Regions from separate parts of the Homo sapiens genome. Here region 1 is linked to region 2. Evidence: promoter capture Hi-C in human tissues and cell types (Jung and others, 2019). All regions are on one chromosome and are shown on one strand. The core of a region is centred on a gene start or on the middle of the fragment in contact, and the rest is flanking DNA. Distances in the headings are between cores, read along the strand shown.

What was found. The method cuts DNA at HindIII sites, captures the fragments that hold promoters and counts their contacts. A contact is called where the count stands out against the background at its distance.
Region 1: a fragment that was not itself captured here is called in contact with the fragment with the promoter of NCK1 in region 2 in 1 of the 25 tissues and cell types used here (H1 embryonic stem cells).

The regions. Positions count from the first base shown.
Region 1 is chr3:137,004,537-137,009,726 of GRCh38, reverse strand. The region is part of intron 6 of IL20RB (interleukin 20 receptor subunit beta); the gene reads right to left. Among named protein-coding and RNA genes, the nearest start is that of IL20RB-AS1, 25 kb to the right of the region's middle. RefSeq lists an enhancer at 2,165-2,666. The HindIII fragment of the contact is 5,327 bases long and covers 509-5,190 here.
Region 2 is chr3:136,860,208-136,865,908 of GRCh38, reverse strand. NCK1 (NCK adaptor protein 1) reads right to left here and starts at 3,701. Exons shown (of 4, transcript NM_001291999.2): 1 at 3,556-3,701. NCK1-DT (NCK1 divergent transcript) reads left to right here and starts at 3,846. Exons shown (of 3, transcript NR_110177.1): 1 at 3,846-4,162. RefSeq lists enhancers at 2,833-2,952, 2,963-3,042, 4,103-4,162, 4,723-4,772 and a silencer at 3,683-3,742. The HindIII fragment of the contact is 14,507 bases long and covers 1-5,338 here.

The sequences.
Region 1 (5,190 bases), core at 1,923-4,422, 140 kb before region 2:
CCCTCTCCACAAAAAATAAACTAGCCAGGCATGGTGGCACATGTCTGTGGTCCCAGCTACTCGTGAGGCTGAGGCAGGAGGATCAATTGAGCCTGGGAGGTCAAGGCTGCAGTTAAGCTCTGATCACACCACTGCACTCCAGCCTAGGTAACAGAGCAAGACCCTGTCTCAACAACAACAACAACAACAAAACCCTAACCTTCTTCCACCACAGAGCTCTGAGAATTATGACCTGGTCTGAGATGCTTTATGAACAGCACCTAGCATGGTGCCCAATACAGAGAGGATGTTCCATAAATGGGAGTCCCTTCCTTGCTCATATTTCAGGTTCCCGCCATCTTCTTTCAGTGGCCCCAGTACACAATCATTACTAGTTATAAACATGCAGACATCAACTTTTCAGGTGGACTCTCCCACCTATTACTCGCCTGCTCACCTCTGCCAAAATCTCTAGGTTCTTCTACAGTTATCTCTCTCGGCCCTTCTCCTCATCACTCCCAAGGGTACCATCTGGGCACAAATAGGCACAATGGTTTCCTCCACCTCAGTTCCTCAGGAGACATCAGCTTCATTGAGCCAGTCTCCCTTCATCCTTGTTTGCAAAGAGGCAGCCACAGAGGCTCACTCTTGGTGTCCATGGGCAAATGCCAACAGGAAGAGGCAACACACAGCAGCATTCACTAAGCGGGGGTGTTAGTGTGAAGCCCATTGGCTCGCTGCTGCTGGTGCAGTCAGATTCTCAGGACACTAACTCCCTACATCTGCAGTGGTCATACATGATCATTTTTTAAATTCCAGAACAGTGCTGTCCAATAGAAATATAATGTGAATCACATATGCAATTTTTAAAATCTCGTAGCACATTTTAAAAGTAAAAAGAAACAGGTGGAACTAATTTTAATAATATATTTTATTTAACAAATATATCCAAAATATTATCATTTTAACACGTCACTTAAAAAATGACTGAAATATTTTATATTCTTGTTTTATTCTGCCTTTAAAATCCATTCCATATTTTATATTTAAAATACATCTCAATTTGGACGAGCCACATTTCTACTGTCTAACAGATATGACTAGTGGCTACTGTATTAGACAGTGCAGTTCTAGCACATTAATGTAAAACAAACATCATAATCTCAGAATTTTGGAAGGTGCAAAACTGTGGTCCCACAGTTTAGAACTAATTTTCAAGCAAAGCTCAGCATATTTTATAAAATCGGAATCAGTTTTCAACATTTAAAAATCAAGAGATTTCTCATAAAAATCTAGATTTCTGGGCTTCTCATTTAAAACTTGGAGATCTGGCAGCACTGGCTCACACTTCCTCTTGGTAGCAACCTGCTGTCGCTGAGAAGATGAAACATATTTGCCATGATCCCCATCCCCCTCCCTATTGAGTTACATTCATTGCACTGCAAGTTCTTTCCTTTTGCTTTTTTTTCTTCTTTCCAGAGCCTGTGTGGACTCAGAGGCATCTGAGTTCACAAACTCCACTTTCTATGAAGCATGCAAGGTCATACTTGGACGGTTCATTGAAGAATTACTAATTTGGGACCATCTTTATGCTTGCTACCTACATTACAGCAGAATGTGACAGCAAGAAGAGAAAGAATAAAGTGAGTCACAGAAAGGAAACTGAGACCCTTCAGCACCAAAGCACCCATTCCCATGAAGCAAATACAGGTGCAAGACAAAGAAAATAAATTATATTTTTAAACAGAGACTATATACTGGGCAGAATTAATATAATTTTCCTTCCATATATAGTTTTGCTTTAGATTTTTACTTGGTGGGATTGCGTTCCAAGATGGCTGAATAGAAACACTCCAGTCTGCAGCCCCCAGTGTGAGCCATGCAGAAGATGGGTGATTTCTGCATTTCCAACTGAGGTACCTGGTTCATCTCATTGGGACTGGTTGGACAGTCGGTGCAGCCCACAGAGGGCGAGCTGAAGCAGGGCAGGGCATCGCCTTACCCGGGAAGCACAAGGGGCCAGGGGATTTCCCTTTCCTAGCCAAGGGAAGCCGTGACAGACTACCTGGAAAAATGGGGCACTCCCACCCAAATACTGTACTTTTCCCAAGGTCTTAGCAACTGGCAGACAAGGTGATTCTCTCTCGTGCCTGGCTCGGCAGGTCTCATGCCCATGGAGCCTTGCTCACTGCTAGCGCAGCAGTCTGAGATCAATCTGCGAGGTGGCAGCCTGGCTTGGGGAGGGGCATCTGCCATTGCTGAGGCTTGAGTAGGTAAACAAAGCAGCCAGGAAGCTCGAACTTGGCGGAGCCCACCACAGCTCAACAATGCCTACTGCCTCTAGACTCCACCTCTATGGACAGGGCATAGCTGAACAAAAGGCAGCAGACAACTTCTGCAGACTTAAACGTCCCTGTCTGACAGCTCTGAAGAGAGCAGTGGTTCTCCCAGCACAGCATTTGACCTCCGAGAACAGACAGACTGCCTCTTCAAGTGGGTCACTGACCCCCGTGTAGCCTAACTGGGAGACACCTCCCAGTAGGGGCTGACAGACACCTCATACAGGCAGGTGCCCCTCTGCGACAAAGCTTCCAGAGGAAAGATCAGGCAGCAATATTTGCTGTTCTGCAATATTTGCTGTTCTACAGCCCCCACTGGTGATACCCAGGCAAACGGTCTGGAGTGGACCTCCAGCAAACTCCAATAGACCTGCAGCTGAGGGACCTGACTGTTAGAAGGAAAACTAACAAACAGAAAGGAAGAGCATCAACATCAACAAAAAGGTCATCTACACCAAAACCCCATCTCTAGTCACCAACATCAAGACGAAAGGTACATATAACCACAAAGATGGGGAGAAACCAGAGCAGAAAAGCTGAAAATTCTAAAAATCAGAACACCTCTTCTCCTCCAAAGGATCACAGCTCCTCGCCAGCAATGGAGTAAAGCTGGATGGAGAATGACTTTGACGAGTTGACAGAAGTAGGCTTCAGAAGGTCGGTAATAACAAAATTCTCCAAGCTAAAGGAGGATGTTGGAACCCATCACAAGTAAGCTAAAAACCTTGAAAAAAGATTAGACAAATGGCTAACTAGAATAAACAGTGTAGAGAAGACCTTAAATGACCTGATGGAGCTGAAAACCATGGCACGAGAACTTCATGACGCATGCACAAGCTTCAGTAGATGATTTGATCAAGTGGAAGAAAGGATATCAGTCACTGAAGATCATATTAATGAAATAAAGTGAGAAAACAAGGTTAGAGAAAAAAGAGTTAAAAAAAAAAGTGAACAAAGCCTCCAAGAAATATGGGACTATGTGAAAAGACCAAATATATGTCTGATTGGTGTGCCTGAAAGTGTTGGGGAGAATGGAACCAAGTTGGAAAACACTCTGCAGGATATTATCCAGGAGAACTTCCCCAACCTAGCAAGGCAGGCCAACATGCAAATTCAGGAAATACAGAGAACACCACAAAGATACTCCTCAAGAAGAGCAACCCCAAGACACATAATTGTCAGATTCACCAAGGTTGAAATGAAGGAAAAAGTGTTAAGGGCAGCCAGAAAGAAAGGTCAAGTTACCCACAAAGGGAAGCCCATCAGACTAACAGCAGATCTCTTGGCAGAAATTCTACAAGCCGGAAGAGAGTGGTGGCCAATATTCAACATTCTTAAAGAAAAGAATTTTCAACCCAGAATTTCATATCCAGCCAAACTAAGCTTCATAAGTGAAAGAGAAATAAAATTCTTTACAGCCAAGCAAATGCTGAGAGATTTTGTCACCACCAGGCCTGCCTTACAACAGCTCCTGAAGGAAGCACTAAACATGGAGATGAACAACCAGTACCAGCCACTGCAAAAACATGCCAAATAGCAAAGACCATCGACGCTAGGAAGAAACTGCATCAACTAATGGGCAAAATAACTAGTTAACATCATAATGACAGGATCAAATTCACACATAACAATATTAACCTTAAATGTAAAAGGGCTAAATGCCCCAATTAAAAGACACAGACTGGCAAATTGGATAGAGTCAAGACCCATCAGTGTGCTGTATTCAGGAGACCCATCTGACATGCAAAGATGCACATAGGCTCAAAATAAAGGGATGGAGGAAGATCTACCAAGCAAATGGAAAGCGAAAAAAAAGCAGGGGTTGCAATCCTAGTCTCTGATAAAACAGACGTTAAACCAACAAAGATCAAAAGAGACAAAGAAGGCCATTACATAATAGTAAAAGGATCAATCCAACAAGAAGAGTTAGCTATCCTAAATATGTATGCACCCAATACAGGAGCACCCAGATTCATAAAGCAAGTCCTTAGAGAACTACAAAGAGACTTAGACTCCCACACAATAATAATGGGAGACTTTAACAGCCTACTGTCAATATGAGACAGATCAACGAGACAGAAGGTTAACAAGGATATCCAGGACCTGAACTCAGCTCTGCAACAAGCAGACCTAATAGACATCTACAGAACTCTCCACCCCAAATCAATAGAATACACATTCTTCTCAGCACCATATCGCACTTATTCTAAAATTGACCACATAAATGGAAGTAAAGCACTCCTCAGCAAGTAAAAGAAAAGAAATCACAACAAACTGTCTGTCAGACCACAATGCAATCAAATTAGAACTCAAGATTAAGAAACTCACTCAAAACCACACAACTACATGGCAACTGAACAACTTGCTCCTGAATGACTACTGGGTAAATAACGAAATGAAGGCAGAAATAAAAATGTTCTTTGAAACCAATGACAACAAAGACACAACGTAGCAGAATCTCCGGGACACATTTAAAGCAGTGTGCAGAGGGAAATTTATAGCACTAAATGCTCACAAGAGAAAGCAGGAAAGATCTAAAATTGACACCCTAACATCACAATTAAAAGAACTAGAGAAGCAAGAGCAAACACATTCAAAAGCTAGAAGAAGGCAAGAAATAACTAAGTTGAGAGCAGAACTGAAAGAGAGAGACACACAAAAAAACCCGTCAAAAAATAAATGAATCCAGAAGCTGGTTTTTTGAAAAGATCAACAAAACTGATAGACTGCTAGCAAGACTAACAAAGAAGAAAAGAGAGAAGAATCAAATAGACGCAACAAAAAATGATAAAGGGGATATCACCACCGATCCCACAGAAATACAAACTACCATCAGAGAATACTATAAACACCTCTACGCAAATAAACTAGA
Region 2 (5,701 bases), core at 2,452-4,951:
TTTGTGTCTGGGTAATTGAAAGCATGGTAATGTCACCAAAACAAAGTCAGCATATGGAATCAGTTTTGAAGGGAAGACTATAAATTCTATCTTCATTAGAGTTTAAGGTGAGGATCAGCCAGACATAAAGTTTCCTTAAATCTTTAAATGTCATATTTAGCCTTGTTGTCTTCCTAACATCACAGTATTTATAGAGAATTTGTTAACTGCTCAGTGATTTCAAAAGTTCCCTTCAATTTTACTTATTAATGAAATAATCATTTAATTTTCTAGTGCAGATAAAGAACATTTGGTATTTTTCTATATTATAAAGGTAAATTCTAAAAATTATTAAACCATGATTTTAAAAATGAACTGTATCTGTATTCATTAAGTCAAGTCTTCCTGACAAGTGATTTATAATAATCACATCAAATATACCTTCAGCTTTGAAAAACACATGGTGAAAAAGTAAAATAAGACAAAGTAAAAGTACAAAGCAATGAAAATGTAAAACTCTAGAAAATTTTTGAAAAATGAATATAGGCCAGCCACGGTGGCGCACACCTGTAATCTCAGCACTTTGGGAGGCGGAGGTGGGCAGATTGCTTGAGGTCAGGAGTTCGAGACCAGCCTTGCCAACATGGTGAAACTCCGTCTCTACTAAAAATACAGGCCGGGCGTGGTGGCTCATGCCTGTAATCCCAGCACTTTGGGAGGCCGAGGCAGGTGGATCACGAGGTCAGGAGTTCAAGACCAGCCTGGCCAAGATGGTGAAACCCTGCCTCTACTAAAAATACAAAAATTAGTCAGGCGTGGTGGCAGGCGCCTGTAATCCCAGCTACTGGGGAGGCTGAGGCAGAGAATTGCTTGAACCCGGCAGGCAGAGGTTGCAGTGAGCCAAGATCCCGCCACTGCACTCCAGCCTGGGCAACAGAGTGAGACTCCGTCTCAAAAAAAAAAACAAACAAAAGAAAAAGAAAAATATATATATATACAAAAAAATTAGCTAGGCATGGTGGCACACACCTGTAGTCCCAGCTACTTAGGAGGCCGAGGCACAAGAATCGATTGAACCCGGGAGGCAGAGGTTGCAGTGAGCCAAGATCGTGCCACTGCACTCCAGCCTGGGCAACAGAGACTCTGTCTCAAAAAAAAAAAAAAAAAAGAAAAGAAAAAAACCCAGAACCATGAAGTATCACTAAGTATCTCTTTTCTTTATTATTTTCCTTTTTAAATTTTTTTATATTTTCTTAATTTAGAGACAGGGTATCACTACATTGCTTAGGCTGATCTCAAACTCCTGGCCTCCAGCTATCCTCCCGCCTTGGCCTCCCAAGTGCTGGGATTACAGGCTTGAACTACCCCGCCTGGTCTCCCTCAGTATCTAACAAAACATTACACATAGGTTTTTTTTGTTTCTGTTTTTTTTTTGTGTGTGTGTGACGGAATCTTGCTCTGTTGCCAGGCTGGAGTGCAGTGGCGATCTTGGCTCACTGCAACCTCCGACTCCCGGGTTCATGCAATTCTCCTGCCTCAGACTCCCGAGTAGCTGGGATTACAGGTGCGTGCCACCACGCCCGGATAATTTTTGTATTTTCAGTAGAGACGCGGTTTCACCGTGTTGGCCAGGCTGGTCTCGATCTCCTGACCTCGTGATCCGCCTGCCTCGGCCTCCCAAAGTGCTGGGATTACAGGCGTGAGCCACCGAGCCCGGCCAACATTACACGTAGGTTTCAAATTTTATTTAGATGGACCTGAAAGCACTGCAGAAACCTGGACAAAGGATAATGCCTAGAAAAATAAATACACATTTTATTTATTTTTTTGAGACGGAGTCTCGCTCTGTCGCCCAGGCTGGAGTGCAGTGGCGCGATCTCGGCTCACTGCAAGCTCCGCCTCCCGGGTTCACGCCATTCTCCTGCCTCAGCCTCCCGAGTAGCTGGGACTATAGGCGCCCGCCACCACGCCCGGCTACTTTTTTGTATTTTTAGTAGAGACGGGGTTTCACCGTGTCTGCTAGGGTGGTTTCAATCTCCTGACCTCGTGATCCGCCCGCCTCAGCCTCCCAAAGTGCTGGGATTACAGGTTTGAGCTACCCCGCCTGGACTCCCTCAGTATCGAACAAAACATTACACGTAGGTTTCAAATTTTATTTAGATGGACCTGAAAGCACTGTCAAAACCTGGACAAAAGATAATGCCTAGAAAAATAAGTACACATTTTAAAATTTAATACATGAGCCAACAGCTGAGTAGATGTGAACACTCTGCAAACTATGTTTATGGATATTACAGCCAATTTCCACAGATCACAATTTTCCCAAAGAAGTCTCAGAGTTTGTGGTCAAGATGAAAAGAAAGCACCATTTATCAACCAGTGCATATTACTATCAAGTTGTGAATGGGATGCCTATTTAAGAATATCACAGACTCCACCCCCCACAAGAAAATTAAGTGTTTTAAAAAGAAAAGAACGAATATTATTGACAATTACCAAACAAAACTTTCTTCTTAGGTTATTTCTCCGTTTACTGTGTGACCTCGCCGAAGGCTGAGAGTCTAGGCACACTGGTTTCCAGGTGCTGAAGAAATCGTTATAGTTGGTTTGTCATACGTCTATCAAAGTAAAATTTTAAAAATGAGTACCTTTTGGCAACACCCGTTTTGGGAGGACATTGAGCTGCTTTGCTCCCTACCCAAAGAGGAGTTAGGAAATTCTCTTTAACCTAATTCTTTCCTAATTTCTAGGGCTTCTTACCTAATCTAACGTGCATAATTATTTTCAGGTGACTCCGGGTCCATCAGTTTGACACCGAGAGCGTTCCTACGGTTACGTCCTCACCCCTGAACAAAACCCAGCTTCCTGAGCTTCTAACGGCGAATTTAACTTGTATGTTAATACAGAAGAAAGGTTACAAAACCTATCGAAATGGTTTTTTGTTTTACCAAACATATTACAACTCAAGTCAAAAGTTCACAGCCCCAGCAACTCGCGTACGAATCTGAAGCAGGTCCAGACCATTAAAGTCACAGCCCCAGACTAGAAAACGGCCGGTGGGTGGGGGGAGGGGAGAGGGCGCGTCCCGAAGATGTCCACCCGCAGCACCGCGCAGGCTGACGCCTCCCCTCCTCTCGGGCTGGAGGTGAGAGCGCCCTTCCTCCTACCACGTCCCTACCTTCCCGGCCTCGGATTACGCCACAGCTGGCAAAAGGACTTTTTCATGAGAAAACAGACAAGTCAACCAGCGCGCCGCACACTCGACCTCCCAGGCTCGCACGGGCGGCCGCCCGGGCTCTCAGCCCGACACAGCGCTCCAGGGGCTGACAAGGAGGCCGCGGGGTCACGCTCCCTGGGGCAACGGCCCGAGGGTCTCGCGGAATCCCGGTGCAGAAGTCTGGACCCTCCGAGCAGCCTCCGCGCCCCCTCCGGCTCGGCTCCGAGCCTGCAGACGGCGCCCCCGGGGCTAACTCAGCGCGAGAAGAGGAAGCGACGCAGCGAGTAACAGGCTGTATGGACGGACAGCGGACTGAAGGGGGGTGTGTGTGTGTCTGCCTGCCAACAAGGCCGTCTCACCTTCCCGCTGCCGAGCCGGGCAGCTCCAGCTCACCTGAGGAGGGCTCCAGGACGCCACTGCGGCCGCCGTGATGGCCGTAACGGCACGAGGCCTGCGCTCCGCCGCCGCCGCGTAGCTCTTGGGAGAGAGGCGGGGCACGCGCGGTGGGCAGGCGGATCCGCGCGGGCAGGAAACCCACTCTGGACCCAATCTGATAGGTTCAGTCGCCCCCTTCCCCGGTCCCTGACGCGACAACGGTCTCTGCCGCACTGGGATTGGGCGGGCCCTCATGTCAATCAAGCGCCGTGCCTGATGTGGAGGGAGCGGAGGCTGCGCGGCGGAGAGTAGAGAGCTAGAGGGTGAGAAGCGCTGGGCCGGACCAGAACTGTCTTAGCTTTTCCCTCTGCGGCTGCTCTGGTTGGTTACTTTGAGCCTGCCTCCTCAGCGCCGCAGGAGAGACTTAACAGCAAAAATGACTGTGTCCTGAGTTCAGCCCCCACTGCTCTGGGAGCTTCCCCCTGGTTTCTGCACCTGAAGAATGTCATCCCAGCCGAAGGTTCTTAGGAGCGGGGAGCGACAAAGAAAAACAAAGAAAAGCAGACCTGAAAATTGGGACCTGGGAGAAATGTAAGACATGTGCTTAATTTGAGGCACAGACCAAAAGAAGCTGAGTCTGAGGGCCCTCTAAAAGTGTCCTCGTGCTTGGGCAGCTTACATTCTTGGCGGCAGTAGTGTTATGAAGAGGACCTTCGGAGCCAGGTCTGTCCATTCTTAGGGCTCCAGCCACTGGCTGAGGCATCAGTAAGTTGGTTCTTCCCCTCGCCGGTGCTGCAGGCCCCCTTCCCCGCCCCCGCGCCGTAACCTGCCTCTTTTTTTTTTTTTTTTGAAACGAGTTTCGCTCTGTCGCCAGGGTGGAGTGCAGTGGCACGATCTCGGCTCACTGCAACCTCCGCCTCCGGGTTCAAGCTATTCTCCTGCCTCAGCCTCCCGAGTAGCTGGGATTACAGGCATGTACCACCACGCCCAGCTAATGTTTTTGTATTTTTAGCAGTGACGGGGTTTCACCAGGATGGTCTCGATCTCTTGACCTCGTGATTCGCCAGCCTCGGCCTCCCAAAGTGCTGGGATTACAGGCGTGAGCCACCACGCCCAGCCGCCTCATCTCTTCTTAACCATCTTTGTGGCACAGTTTAGGATCGCTCCTCAGGGAAGCTTGCTCAGTTAGGTACCTTCCTTGGAGCACAGGTGTTTTCTCCATCCGAGCTATTGAAATGGTTTGCCTGTATGTCTACCTAGATTGTAAACTCCGTTGAATCAGTAACCATGTCTGTTCAGTTTCTCCCTAGGGCCTTGCAGTAGGGTAGATGGTCAGTAAATACTGTTTAAGGCATTAATACTTTTTATTTTAATCCTGGCCCTGGATATCAGCCTCAAAAGTTTGCAGTTTTCTGCATTTAACTTCAAAATTATTTACGTGATTGGTAATGCATGCATGTGGTTGGCCTGTGCTGTAATTTAGATGTTTGTTCCCCTAAACCTCCTGTTGAAATTTGATCCCCAATGTTGGAGGTGGGGACTAATGGGCAGTGTTGGGTCATGGAGGTGGTTCCTTCAGGAATAGATTAATGTCCTCCCTGGGGAGAGGGTAAATGAGTTCTCTTTATTTCCACCAGAGCTGGTTAAAAAGAACGTCGCACTTCCTTTCTTCTTTTGCGTCCTCTCTGGCCATGTAATCTCTGCACACACCAGCTCTCCTTTGCCTTCTGGCATGAGTAGAAGCAGTCTTAGGCTACCATCAGATGCAGATGCTCAGTCTTGAACTTTTCCAGACATCAGAACCATAAGCCGAAAAACCTTTTCTATTTCTAAATTATCCAGCTTTGGGTATTCCTTTCTAGCAACACTAAAGGGACTAAGACAGCCTGCCATATGTAGGATCACAAGGTCAAGCACAAATTTACCTATTTATGCTGTACTATCCTCAGGTTGACTGGGACAAGTAGACCATGAAACTGGGCAACAGCTACTCTATGTCTACATTCTGTTATTAGCATCCAAAGTGAATAATGGCGGTGAATTTTGAGTTTATTCTAAGGGTTTAAATAACTGCATATTTTATCATGACTGGTATGGACTGAATTGCATCCCCCCCAAAAATTCATACTG